Linked DNA regions of Homo sapiens: region 1 is linked to region 2. Evidence: promoter capture Hi-C in 16 types of primary human blood cells and fetal thymus (Javierre and others, 2016). All regions are on one chromosome and are shown on one strand. Each heading gives the region's core, a stretch centred on a gene start or on the middle of the fragment in contact. The rest is flanking DNA. Distances are from core to core; before and after follow the strand shown.

Region 1 (6,446 bases), core at 809-3,308, 430 kb before region 2:
CATCTGCCTGAAAGGCTTTTTCCCCAGAGATCTGCCGGGATGTTCCCCTTTCTTCATTCAGGTCTTTGTTCAAATGCCAGCTCCTCAGAAAAATTTCCCTGGCCACCCATATGAAATAGAAACATAAAATCACAGCCACCAGCATGCCTGTTACCCTTCTTCCTATTCATAACACTGGCTATTATCTGTTGCTGTCTTACACACCTTGGTGTAAATTTCTTTATTGTCTCCATGCCCACTGAAATGGAAGCCACATGAGGGCAGGCTTCTGCCTGCTTTCTTCAGTGCTATCCCCCCAGGGTTTTCACTTGCAGCTACTTAATAAATGTACATGAGTATATGGACCTCTTTTCCTGATTTCCAGTGTTTACAGCATTTTCAGTTATACTGCAGAACCTCAAAATATGCTTACTATATCCTGAGCAAACTGTGTTATAAATTAGAAGGAATTGCCATGGAATTTCCCCCTCATAAACTTGACAGGTTAAAGAAACATATCAAAAGTTCATTAAATGGCAAGAGGGTGCTAATTTGACAAGTAGTGAAGCAGGAAAGAAGAGAAGGAAGAGAGAATTCCAACATATAATTCGTAAAATTATTTAGTGACCTTGCCTTGCCCTAATATAGGATGCTTTCCTGACCTTACTCCTTCTGCAGTTCCCTCCTCATACTTCAAGGCCCAGGATGAACCTTTCCACCTCCAGGCCCATCCCTGAGCAGCCTCACTCTTTCTGAACTCTAAGGGCTCTAAATGTTGGCCACAACCACATGACTCACATGACTATTAATAGGATCATTCACCACATCCTTCTGTCTCATCTAAACTCATTGTTCCTATCTAATCAACTCCATAGCAGCAACTCAGCCTCTGACATTTTTTTCCATTTTAGCCCAGTCTGAGTCCATAAAATGAGCCACCAACGTACTCAATACAGCCGTTTGTATCAAAGACGACAAAGCATTTATATTCTGATGGAATTAACCCAACATAAACTCCTCCTCAAAATGAGCTGTCAGAAGTGAGAGTCTCACACTGGATAAAAGGGAGTAGGGTGAGTGGACCTACTGGAGGCTCTCCTTCTTGCATGAGCAGCAGGAGGCCAAGACCTCCTGTGCATCCCTGCCTGGACCTGGAGATGGTTTCAGTAGTACCTAGAAAATAGGACCCAAAGCAGCTGTCAACCAACAGCACAGGGTGGCTCTTTGATACCCCTTTTTCATCAGTTTTCATCTGGGTCCCCAACCCAAGAGGTTGCAGAATGAACTGTGACTTATGGAAGAAAGGGGCACTTGTGGAAGAATGCTCCAACACACTCCGTCTCTTCATGGTCCACTTCAAGATTAATTGTTTACCCATTTCCTTAGCTCAAGCTTACTCTATACCCAATCTATCTAGGTGCTTCCTTATTCTTTTTTAACTCAGTCCAGTAGGAAAAGGCTCTAGACCATTTTGACCCCCCAGGAGAGTCTCCCTCCTTAATCTCCACCTATCCCTTGTGATTAGAATGGTCTGTCTTTCCTCTCCTCTCTCCTCTTCTCTAGTTATTCCCTTTCTTCCACTCTCCATCTCTTTTCTCTCCTCCTCTCCTCTTCTCTACTCTCTTCTATTATTTTCTGTTTTTCCTCACTTAGTCTTTCCAGCTTGTTTAACTCCAAAGACCACTTCAAGAAATTCTTACTTCCTAGCTCCAAACCCAACACTCTTTTAGCTCACTTTCAGTACAAAGACAATTTCTTCAGAATGGCATTGATTAAACTTTTGTATGCCTTTCCCACCTGTTTGTTGAGTTGCCCACATTGGACTGAACTCACCTTCTGTTTTCTTTTGCAACATTATAACAGACACACAGGGTGAGACGAATGACTTGGCAGCAGCCCCCACAACTCGAGGAGGAAATCAGCTAAAGACTGGCTCCTACCAGCTGCTCTCTCTATTGACCCCATTCACCTTGACATCAGGACACTGGAAGAAGAAAGAGGAGAAAAAAATCACACGCATGGCTGTGTCCTTACATACTTCTGGGAGGGAGTGTGTCTTTGTGTAGTGGGGGTAGGGGAAGATTTTTGTGCATAGAGGAGAGGGTTATGCAGTAGGGAAAGAGATAGCTGTCTCTCAGTGGTTAAGAAGAAAATAGAGAGGAAATATTCCACTCGAACTATCCTGTACTTAAACTGATGGTTAATTCTATCCCATAAGCATTAAGTTGGTTCATTTTTGCTGGGTTGTAACTTTAGAGGTGTGGGCATGCAATTAAGATTTTCCTAGTATCACCCTACTTAACCCAATGACATTGGGGAGCAGGATTTCCCCATTTTAACAGCTAGTTCAGAGCTCAAGAGGCAGCCCAACAGCAGCCACAGTGAGGAGAGGCTGAGTGGCAGTTCTAATTGACCATTTCTACCCATGTTCCTCTTAGAAACATACAATAAGAGCTGTCACAGCTTCCTGCCAATCACAAGAAATCTGACCCAGACAAAGCACCATCTCAGAGCGAGGGCTGTTTATATATCCAGTAAATTCTGTTTCCATCGCATTATCTTATTTTTAGGTCATTGCAGAGAAGAGCATGCCTAATCATATCATAAAATCATGAATTTAGTAGATTATAGATGATGACTTCAAATCTAATTATGTCCTCTGGCTGCCCAAACAAGACACCATTTAGCATTTGACACCATCAAGTCTTGAAGTTGCAAGTTTGTTCTTTGGGGATACTCTGGAGCTTTTGCAGAATAGAAGCTTGTCAAATACTTAGGAGGCATTGCTGTTTTATGACACAGAGGAAAGAAAACAATGAATTTCTGTTCTGATGTGCAATGAACAGAACTTCAGGATGAGCTGTTTTATTGCATGAAGGGTTGAAGCAACAGAGGAGATTTATGCAGACAAGTTACATGCCACATTTGCCTGTTTTTTCTCCTTTTACAGTCGATGACAGATTTTCACTCTGACACAATTTCAACAACACTCGTGTCATAAGCAATGGAAACTGGAAAGGCAAACTAACTAGACAGACAGCAGCTCATCAGTGCCACACACTCATGCTCAGCTCCTGTGGAATGATCTTGCCATAATAAGGCCAGACATGTGGATTTTAAATGCCTCTACAAGTGGTTAGTTAGCAAGGTGGTCACACATCCATAGATGCACTGACAGAGAAACTACATGAGACAACATGGTGTTTCAGCTTGCAGCTGCCATCCCCACTCCATCAGGGAACACAGCTGGTGCCTTCTCTCTCAAAGATAGCAGGGGGCTGTGGGAAAGATGACAGGGCTTCAGATTCCCCATCCAACTCAGCAGGAGAAAGAAAAGGTCCTCAGACAAAGAAATGCTGATCCAAATTCTGCATCATGCATGGGCACACACAGGTGTTCTCCCATTTTTTAAGTTTACATGGTTCAGCTTGTTGCTGAACGGTGATTAATTCCACAGGAAAAGGACCATGAAAGCTTATAATACTGAAGGTTGAATGAAGGAGAATTACATTTCTCTCCTCTATTGGTGGGGCTTGGCCACAGGACTTTCTGCAGTCAGTAAAATATGCAGGAAATATGTGTCGCTGACATGCAGAAGCTTTGAGAACCAGTATGTGGTTTCCAGGCTTTCTTTTTCCCTCTGCTCAATGACCAGCAATGTCCCAAAGAGAAATTGCTCTGTCAACTGGGCTGTGGAGTAAACAGAACACGGAGCAGTACTAAAGTAGACCCAAGATGGCTAAGAACAAGAAATAACCTTTTATTGTTAAGGGACTGAAATTTGGGAGTTGTTACTGCATTATAACCTAGCCTATTCTAACTGATACAGTCACTTTAAAATGCTATTGGACCATCTATTATAAATCTAAAAGTGGGTGGCATCCTTGCTTGAAAAGTTCAAGTATTTTCTTTCTCTTGCCATACTCTCTTTTTTATCTGTAGCCTCTTTGTGTTTGAACTGGTTCCATCTTTGATTTGTTTATTAGCCTCAAGGAGGATATCAGATGAGGCAGATCTCTGAACCACAGATGTGGATACATTTTAGGCAGATGATGTTATGGTTAATTCGGTAGGAAGAGGTGAGCATGGATCTAACAATTACAGAACATATTATCCTCTTTCAAAATCAGTTTGTTGCCTTTGCAATAGACATATTCATCTAGCATTACATGAAAGTGTGTAGATACTATCTCCTAATATTAGAAAGACTTGGTCATTGAGCTATATGGCAAGCAAGACCTGTGATAACATATTATAATCCTATTAGAGACTTCACATAGAAAATGAAAAGTGTCCCAAACTTAAAATATTTGAAAACCATAACAGTGTTAGAAGACATACAGTAAATGCTGAATTTTTAAGGCATGAAATCCACTACATGGAAGGATACTTTATTTTGTTAAATTCAATCACTATACATTGATTATCTTCTAGGGCACAGCATCAGGGTTTTGCAGAAAATAGTTTTGAGGCTCAACCATGTTCCTTATTTGTTAGTGAAAGGCAGTATCTACCTATGTATCAGCCAAAAACCTTGAGTTTTTATCTCATTCTTCTCCTTCAGGTTTTAAGATCTAAGCACCTCAGCAACAGAATCTCTAGATCTGAGTCAATGAGAGTTCCTCCAGATTGTCAATTAAACCATAAACTATAAAGAAGAAGGAGTGACAGGGAACTTTTCTGATTTGACATTACAGTTAGGAAACAACATTCCAGAACCATGAAATGTTGGATTTGAATAAGAGAAAGCATCTGGGATCCTTATGCCCAGTGAAGTTTAGAAATTCACAAACAGCAAGTCACAAATAGAAGGGGATCTGAGATCAGACCTCTGGTGTCCTCTTTAGATGTTAGTCCTCTCCTTATAACTGCTTGTTAAGGATGGGCTAGACCATCTGAAATGACAGAAATTTATTTTACAAAGAATGTAGACTATGGGAGAATTAGAAAGATAGAAATAATGAAGACCAACCATCTTCCCCAAATGAACACTCTATTTAAGAAAACCCCAGCAACTTATCAGCCTGTGATTGAATGCCTCCAGTGACCGGGAGCTCACTGCCCTCTGAAGTGTCTGTTCTGTTGTGGGAACTTGCTGGATAGTAGTAATAAGGTCCTCCTTGGGATCAACCAACAGCATCCTTGTGGGCATTTCCATAAACTAGTCATAGTTCTGCTCTGTTCTATAAGATTAATCTAGTCCAGTGGTTTTCAAACAAAGGAATTGGCTCCTAGAAGACTCCCAGATTTTGGGCTCTCAGAAGACATTTGGTAAAGTCTGGAGACATTTTTGGTTGTTACAGCTACCAAAAATGCTACTGAAATATAGAGTATAGTGAGGCCAGTGGCACTGTTAAACACCATATAAGTCACAGGACAACACCACACCCCCTTAACAAAGAATTATCTAACCCAACATGTCAGTACCACTGCGACTGAGAAACTCTGACCCAGTTCAATCTCTGTTTGACACTATAACTCCTCACATATCTGAAAGGGGCTATGATATTCCTCCCAAGTTCTCTCTCTACTGAATATCCTCAGTTTTCTTAGTGTTCTATATATGACTTAGTTTTACTATTCTGAAGTAATTCTGCTAGTCATACTTCAACATGTCCATCCCTCTTGTTAATTGGCTCAACCAGAAGGATACACTACCCTCGAGATCACACATAGAGCTTGGGACTCTTAATTCCCATGATCAAAGCACCTCATGTGCTTAGAACATTGACAAGTACCAATAAACTATCGCTGGAAGAATAAAAAGAGTCTGGTGTCTTAGATGAGAGTATGGATTCAATAAGAGTTCATGGTAGTTAGATGATGGTAGCAATAGCTATAGCAGCAAAAATAACACCTACTCTTTATTGAGTGCTGGTGATATATGCCTGCCACCCTTCTAAGGGCTTTATATATATATATAATCTCATTAAATCTGTCTTGTAATTCTACCTCATAGCTTGTGTTACCATCATTTTACAGATGAAGAAACCAATTCTTAGATAGGTTTAAAAAACTTGTCTAAGGTCATGGAACTTGTGATTAGATTGGCCAAACCTGCCTAACCTCAAAATCCATGCTCTTAATCCCACAATGTGTTCTAATTCATCCTCTTCAATACAGGGATAACATGGTGTATTTTTCATAACAGTAACAAACTACAGTGAATTAACCAATGCATCGATCGTAACATGCATGCACATATCTTGGCCACAGTTTCATTACTTTGCAACCTAAGACCAGAACCAACTTTGCAAGTAAATAAAGTAAATAAAGCTATTAAGACAAACAGGCCTCACACTTAAGTTTCCAAAGCTTTGTTTTTAAGGGTCTCTTGGATAAAACAAATCAACAGCAACATGAACAGAGAAGATTGATATTTTCATGGCCCTCTGTTCAAGAAAGTTGTCCCACTGAAAATTGATAACCCTGGTTTGGGCCATCTCAGACTCATGAGTGTGCTGGGA
Region 2 (6,336 bases), core at 1,444-3,943:
TTATATCTTCACTGTCTGATTTTGATCCTCCTTCTCTATCGTCTATCACCAAATCGATAGGCATTTTCCCTTTCAAACAGCTAATATACCGGTGGCAGAAATTGTCACATAATTCGTGTACCTACATTATGACAGAAATAAAAAAATGGGAATATAATCAGGAGTGCATAAATGACATTGACAAGTGCAATCCACCCCCCTTGTGAGATCCAAACTTCCAAATAGGGGAAACACAGGGCAATTGTCCTCCAGAGACCCCCAGACGCATCCAGAATTAGGAATAACTTTCTTTTCTTGCAAAATAGAGATATCCCAGAAAATTGACAGTGACAAGATGATTCACAGGCTACAACATATTCAACACCCGTGTTAAATTCATCTGCTCCTGGGGCTGTGGTCATTAGAGAGGTGACCTGCGTAGGTGACATTTAAGGTAAACTATTTAATTTCATCCAGTGACTTTATCATAAATCCCTTTCTAATGTGTCTAAGAAAAAAATGTATACGTGTGTATATATGCACATATATATTCTCCAAAGAACCTGTACTGTGGTGGCATAGGATAAATGCCTGACAACCCAAGTCCTTATTATATTTGTAATGAAGGTTTTTATCTCTAAGGGGTATATTTTAGAAAACTTTCTTTGAAAAAAAAATGGAAGGAAATCAAGTTGCCAGTACTCCTGATATGGGAAAACATACAGCCACACAAAAACATATCAAATTGATTTTTTTTTTTTTTTTTTTTTTTTACAAAAAGGAGAAGGAATGCCTCAAAATATTTAAGTGTAAGTGCAGAGGTTTCCTAGAGGTCCCAGGCATCACTGACATGCAAAAATTCACAAGAAACCCCAGTGTGCTTGCAATTTAATGTTAGTTTGAATTACAATGCATTAAGTTTTTATTGCTGAGATTTATAGAACAGCTAGCAAAATCATGTTATCCCACACCCTTTCTTGAGTGTGAAGGTGGAGTGTGTGCAGGATTCACAGATTCAAGAAATTGACACAACTATCAACTCTGCTTTGTCTCTGCAAAACGTTTAATGTGCCTCCCCACCACCTCCTCCAGACTCCTTCCCGCTCCTCCTCCTTCTCCCCTTCTGCCTCTCCCCTGTGTCTGATCTGCCCTTGCTCTCAAGACTGTCTTCCAGAAACTCACTACAACTGAATAAAACTTTTTTCTCCCTCAGAGGTAGCAAAGAAGAGAAGGAAGAGGATGAGAAGAGACAACAGAGGTATGAACTTGTGAAACAACCTCAGAGCAGCATTCGAAACATCAGCTGGGATGCACAGAATTGCAACTATTTACACAAAGCCAGCAAGTTATTAAGAATGAACACAAGGCTAGGGCGTTTGTGATCCCAGTTTTAGTGGCTGAAATTGTAATTAAACTGCGAAGAGAAATGGACGCTAAGATTGGCCTTGACACTAATTACCAGAAAGAAAGACATTTATGCAAATGTATCAGAAGGCTGAACTTCAGCCATTCGGAACCCTCCCCCCTGTGTGTTTGGGGGTAAGGGGTAAGTAAAAGGAAAAGAGGCTAGAGAAATTACCTTCTCTAATTCCAATAGATGAAACCTTAATACTTGTATGGCTTGAATCATCTGCAAAGATACAAAAACAATAAGCACCCCATTCCTGGCTTGCAGAAAACTGGCTGCCACAGCTCTACCATCTCCAGCCCACCCCCTCCCACCAGTAAATAGAGTTATTTTGATTTATGGCAATAACACTAAAACTTAATAGCAGCAACTGGGTACCATCTAGAGGTTTATATTTCTTAAGAAAAAAAAAACTAGCTAAAACAACAACACAGCATCTAAGTGAGGATCATAAACACTCTCCTCCCCCATGGCTCTCCCCTTTCTCAGTCCCACTGGCCCCACCCCACCCCAAAAGGGCCACAACACTGGACTACATGTGTCCTTGGAAGGAGTGGACAGAAAAATATTCCAAATGGCCCTCAAACTGTGGCTTTTCCCATTGCAAAGTTTCTGCTGCCTTCCTTACACCTTTCAGGCAAACTGGTTGTTTGGGGGCTCTTGTCCGGTGGCTGCCCTCGTGATGGGACTTAGAGGGCTAGGAAGTCCGCAAAGTTTAAGCACACATGCTGACAGGCCGGGAGATAAATCCCCGCGCTGATTAGAGCTGCGCAGCCCGGCTGTCATAAAAAACAAAAGCTCGCGTTTCCCCGCGCTGGCTCGCCCGGCCCCTCTCGAGATGAATTTATTTCCCCGGGATCTTGTCCCGGACCAGTTGTCCGTGTACAGAAACATTTGCAGCCAACCTGCAGGCACGGGAAGACCGGTCTAGAAATCTCAGGGCTCTCAAAGCAAAGCTGAGGGCGTTGGAGGTGGGAGGTAGGGGGTCGGGGGCGGGGGAGGGAAATAGGGGTCCGCTCTTACCAAGTTATCCAGTTCTGGATTAGAAGAAAATAGAGGTTTTTCTGCGCGAATCTAAATACAAGTGAGAAGGAGAGGGGAGAGGGAGGGGAGAGAAAAAAGAAAGAAAAATTTGAAATCTGGTCGCCTTCCTAGTTTCTTGCCTCATTACACTGTCGGGGGCAGGAAGTAACCCTCCGGGAGGGACCCGGTGACACCGAGTTCGTCCCGCGCAGAAACATTTCAGTGTGAATTAAATAAGCTGAAAACAAGCCCAGAGCTCAATCTTACTTCTACTAGCAACTACGGCTCTCGGGGAGGCTGCTCAGACCGCCGAGTCCACAGCAGCTACAACCGTGGTGTTCTTGATTTTATTCTGCAGAGTGAGCTCTCCACGTTTGCTTTCTGGAGGGTGAGTGGGGATGCAGATGGGTGATTTTAAGTTATCTGCAAACAGACACTCAGACAGAGAGAAAATCTGAGGTTGGAGGTAACATGCATGGCTTAAGGCCGACTACGTGCTGGCTACTTTTGAAAGTGTGCCGTGTGTGTGTGTGTGTGTGTGTGTTCGCGCGCGCGCGCGCGCGTGTGTGTTGGCGAAGGGGGGGCTCTCTTTTTGTTTCTTTTACTTTTTAACATCTATTTTGCTGACCTGTTTGGCGAACACGGCTATATCTTCATTGAATGACTCTGACGAGCAGACGTCCCCGCCCGCCACCCCCGGCTCGCGGGGGGTACAAGTAGCTAATTCACATTTCTCAAAAATCAGTGCTAAGAGAGGGAAGAGGGGGTGTCTGCAAGAAAATACAACAGTCACAAACAACATAATGGTTAGTCCCCAGTCAATGGAAAAAGGTGCCCAAGAAAAACAGCTGGAGGAGCAAGAGGAACAGACCCCCTCTCCGATTGTGTCATCTACTTTTTTCCTTTTCCTCCCCCTCCCCCAGACCCAGGTGACCGCTCACCTCCCCTTCCTCCTGGAGCCCTGAAGTCGGAGGCCCTGAGCCATGGACGGTATCTGAGGATCGGTTTAGCGTATCTGGCCGGAGAAATTGGCAACATTTGCTACGAATAAAACCCAAGCGTTTCCAGCAGCCATTTTGAATTAAGTTTCCCACCCGACAAGCCCTCGTCCCCTCCACTGCACATCCAGGATCCGGTGGAGGAGAAAGGCGCCGGGCGGAGAGTTGGGGAGGGCTGGTTCCTGCGGGTTCCTCCTAGGCGGCCGCGCGAAGCCCAGGCTCGGGGGATCTCGGTGGCAGGCGCTCAGCTAACTTGGGGAAAGGACGTCCATGGCCGTGGGGCCGACTGTCAACGGGCTGCACCTAGGGATCCCAACCCCAAGGCCCTCGGAGAGCCGGGAGGCTCCTCCTCAGCTCCACGCACATTCCCCTCCCTTCGCTGATAGCCCCCACCGCCCCCCAAAGAAAGTTCCTTCAAATGTTCCTGCAGTAGAGCCTTTCATTTTGTCTCTGCGAAGTGGCAAAGCAGCTAGTATTGCGAGGGGCCTAGATGTCGCTTGTCTCAGCCCATAAAAAAGAAAAAAAAAAAAAAAAGAAGAAGAAGAAGAAAGAAAGAAAAGCTTCTTCTAATGCCCAAGGAGGTATCTCAAGTCTTTTATTAGCTCTCACAGCTCAGCTGGGAATTTAACAGTTTGGGGTCCTTTACAAAGCTTCCCCAAATGTTCTGTCCCAGAGCCTAAACCACTTGTAGTTAACTCTGCGGACAGAACGGTGGGAATTAAACAAGCCCATCGCACAAGGGATCAGAAAATAAAATAAAAAGATTATATATATTTTTTTTTCCAGCGAGGGAGGGTCAGTGTGTCCTGATTTTTTAAAAATAAATAAATAGAAATAAAAGTTTCTGCAAAGTAAAAAGAGGTTCCCAAATTCATCGGCACACAGTAGGCACAAGTGAGTTTCAAAGGATTCTACTAGCCCAGGGTCTAATCGAATGGCGGAGGAGAAAGCAGTATAAACCGCAGCCAGAAAACAACCTCCGAGGAAGAGCACCCCGAATTTACTTATTTCTAAATCCTGCAGGTTTCGCCTTTGAGCACAAAGTGCTAAAACATCTAGAAGTTTCTTAATGTGTGTAACAATTCAGAGCAAGCTCCTCTCCTTGACTTCAGTGGTCAAACTCCCTAAATGCAAAACATGTTCCCCCTTGCTTGACCTGCAACTGTCCTGCTTTGGTTTTATTGTGCAGTGGCAGAGCCAGCATAAGGCTGCTGAGTAAACTCAGCAAGTCAGAACAATCAGTGGCTTAAAAGAGATTTTCCCTTAAACTAAAAGTTTCGTTACAACACAAAGGCGCCTGCATTTAGAAACCCCTAACGCTCTCGGGCGAAATCGAGCGAGGGAGGACTCCAGCCCGCTGAAGGAGTCTGAGAGGGGACAAGGGCCCTTTAGCCAGCTTCTTCTCATCTGGGACCCCCTTGCGGGCACTGCCATGGTGGAGCAGGGCACTGGATGTGCACAGAGTGTGTATGGGGATGTAGGGCTTCAGGGATGGCAGGCCACCTCCCCAAATTATCCATGAAATGTGAATGAAAAGTCACCAAAGATGTACCTCCAATCCAGAGAACTCTGACTTTCCTCTTACCAAGGGCACAGAGAAAGAGGGAAGCGTTGAGTCTCAACTACTTAACCTGCTGCCCATTGTACCTACCCATAAATGGCATCTTTATCTCTCTTTAAAGCGTCATTGACAGAGGAGCCCATGCTGGGGGCCATGGCGTTGGTATGAGCTGTGTGCGGGTACTGATGCGAGTGCAGAGGAGGCCCGTGGTTCAGGTGGTGGACCGGCTGCATGGACCTGGCTGCATGCGGGTCCCCATACATCGTGGAGGGGATGCCTACTCCATCCATGCCCCCGTAATGGGGTAGATCGTCGTACTGCATGACAAACAGGAGAGAAAGAAGGTTCAGGAGGCCAGGCGGGCAAATGGGAGAACGGCAAGGCACCGAGCTTATATAAGGTCAATACAGCTGGGTCCTTCCACCCGGAATTCGGTGGCCTTGCATCTATAAAGCTGAGTTTTTCTTATTTTAAAATTAAAGCTTTAAGTAAAAAATACAGAATTCTCAGCGAGACTCGTCTGGGATGAATGATCTTGCCCTAACTTGTGTCCCTATCAACTAGTTTAGAAATTCAGGCTCCTTTGGCAAGAAGGAAAGAAGAAAGAAAGAGAGAAAGAGAAGCATTCTCCCGAGGGTAGAAGGTGAAACGGGCATGTCTCTGGAGGAAGAAATTCAAAATCACAATAATAAAACGTGCCAGGACACTGCAGCAAACCCGCCTAGTTTCACAGCCCCTTCACATCAGGGGGAATTAAAAAAAAAAAAAAAAGTTACGATGGGAACAGCTACGCAAAGCACGTGAATTTAGACAGGCTTCTCATTTTATTTCCCTGCCAGCGTGAGGTTAGGCAGTCCTACAAGACACTGCATTTCTTTTGCTTTCCAAGACAAACTCTGCTAAATTATACAAAACTAACTGACCCCTTATAAGTGAAACTCAAAGGAGGGTAGCTTTTCCTGAACATCAGAGCTGAATTTAGAATTGGGCAATTCCCCACCCCCAAAGTTAAAGAAAATCTATAGTTGAAGCAGCTAATATTCTATTTTCTTATTTACTCTTATGAACTTTGTTTCCAGACTAGAAGTCAAGGAGGCAAATGTTACTCACCAGGTTTAAAGCAAATTCAAAAGCAAATGCACAACTTTCCATCTTCCTCTTCCAGAAAAAAAAAAAAAAAACTACTTTCATATTGATTGTCATTATTTTGTGTGTGTGAAATTTAGCTATTTAGGTTTTTCTAATTGGTTCATTCCAGGCAGTTATTTTCCCAAGATTTGGAGGCGCTGAGAGTGAAATGATTTTCAAAGAAAGGAGGAATTGCCACTTTCATCTCCTTAAAGCCAGAGGTGTGAAAAGAGTTTGGA

The links. The method cuts DNA at HindIII sites, captures the fragments that hold promoters and counts their contacts. A CHiCAGO score of 5 or more calls a contact.
Region 1: a contact is called between a fragment that was not itself captured here and the fragment with the promoter of MEIS1-AS2 in region 2, in 1 of 17 cell types (megakaryocytes). The highest score is 6.0, in megakaryocytes.

Annotation. Positions count from the first base shown.
Region 1 is chr2:66,863,645-66,870,090 of GRCh38, reverse strand. No RefSeq gene overlaps it. Among named protein-coding and RNA genes, the nearest start is that of LINC01799, 38 kb to the left of the region's middle. The HindIII fragment of the contact is 1,369 bases long and covers 1,374-2,742 here.
Region 2 is chr2:66,436,687-66,443,022 of GRCh38, reverse strand. It overlaps MEIS1-AS2 (MEIS1 antisense RNA 2), which reads left to right and starts at 2,693. Exons shown (of 2, transcript NR_046625.1): 1 at 2,693-2,798; 2 at 3,334-3,936. It overlaps MEIS1 (Meis homeobox 1), which reads right to left. Exons shown (of 13, transcript NM_002398.3): 2 at 5,060-5,286; 3 at 3,039-3,180; 4 at 2,411-2,461; 5 at 1,559-1,609; 6 at 1-121. RefSeq lists enhancers at 1-583, 2,383-3,582. The HindIII fragment of the contact is 4,208 bases long and covers 1-3,970 here.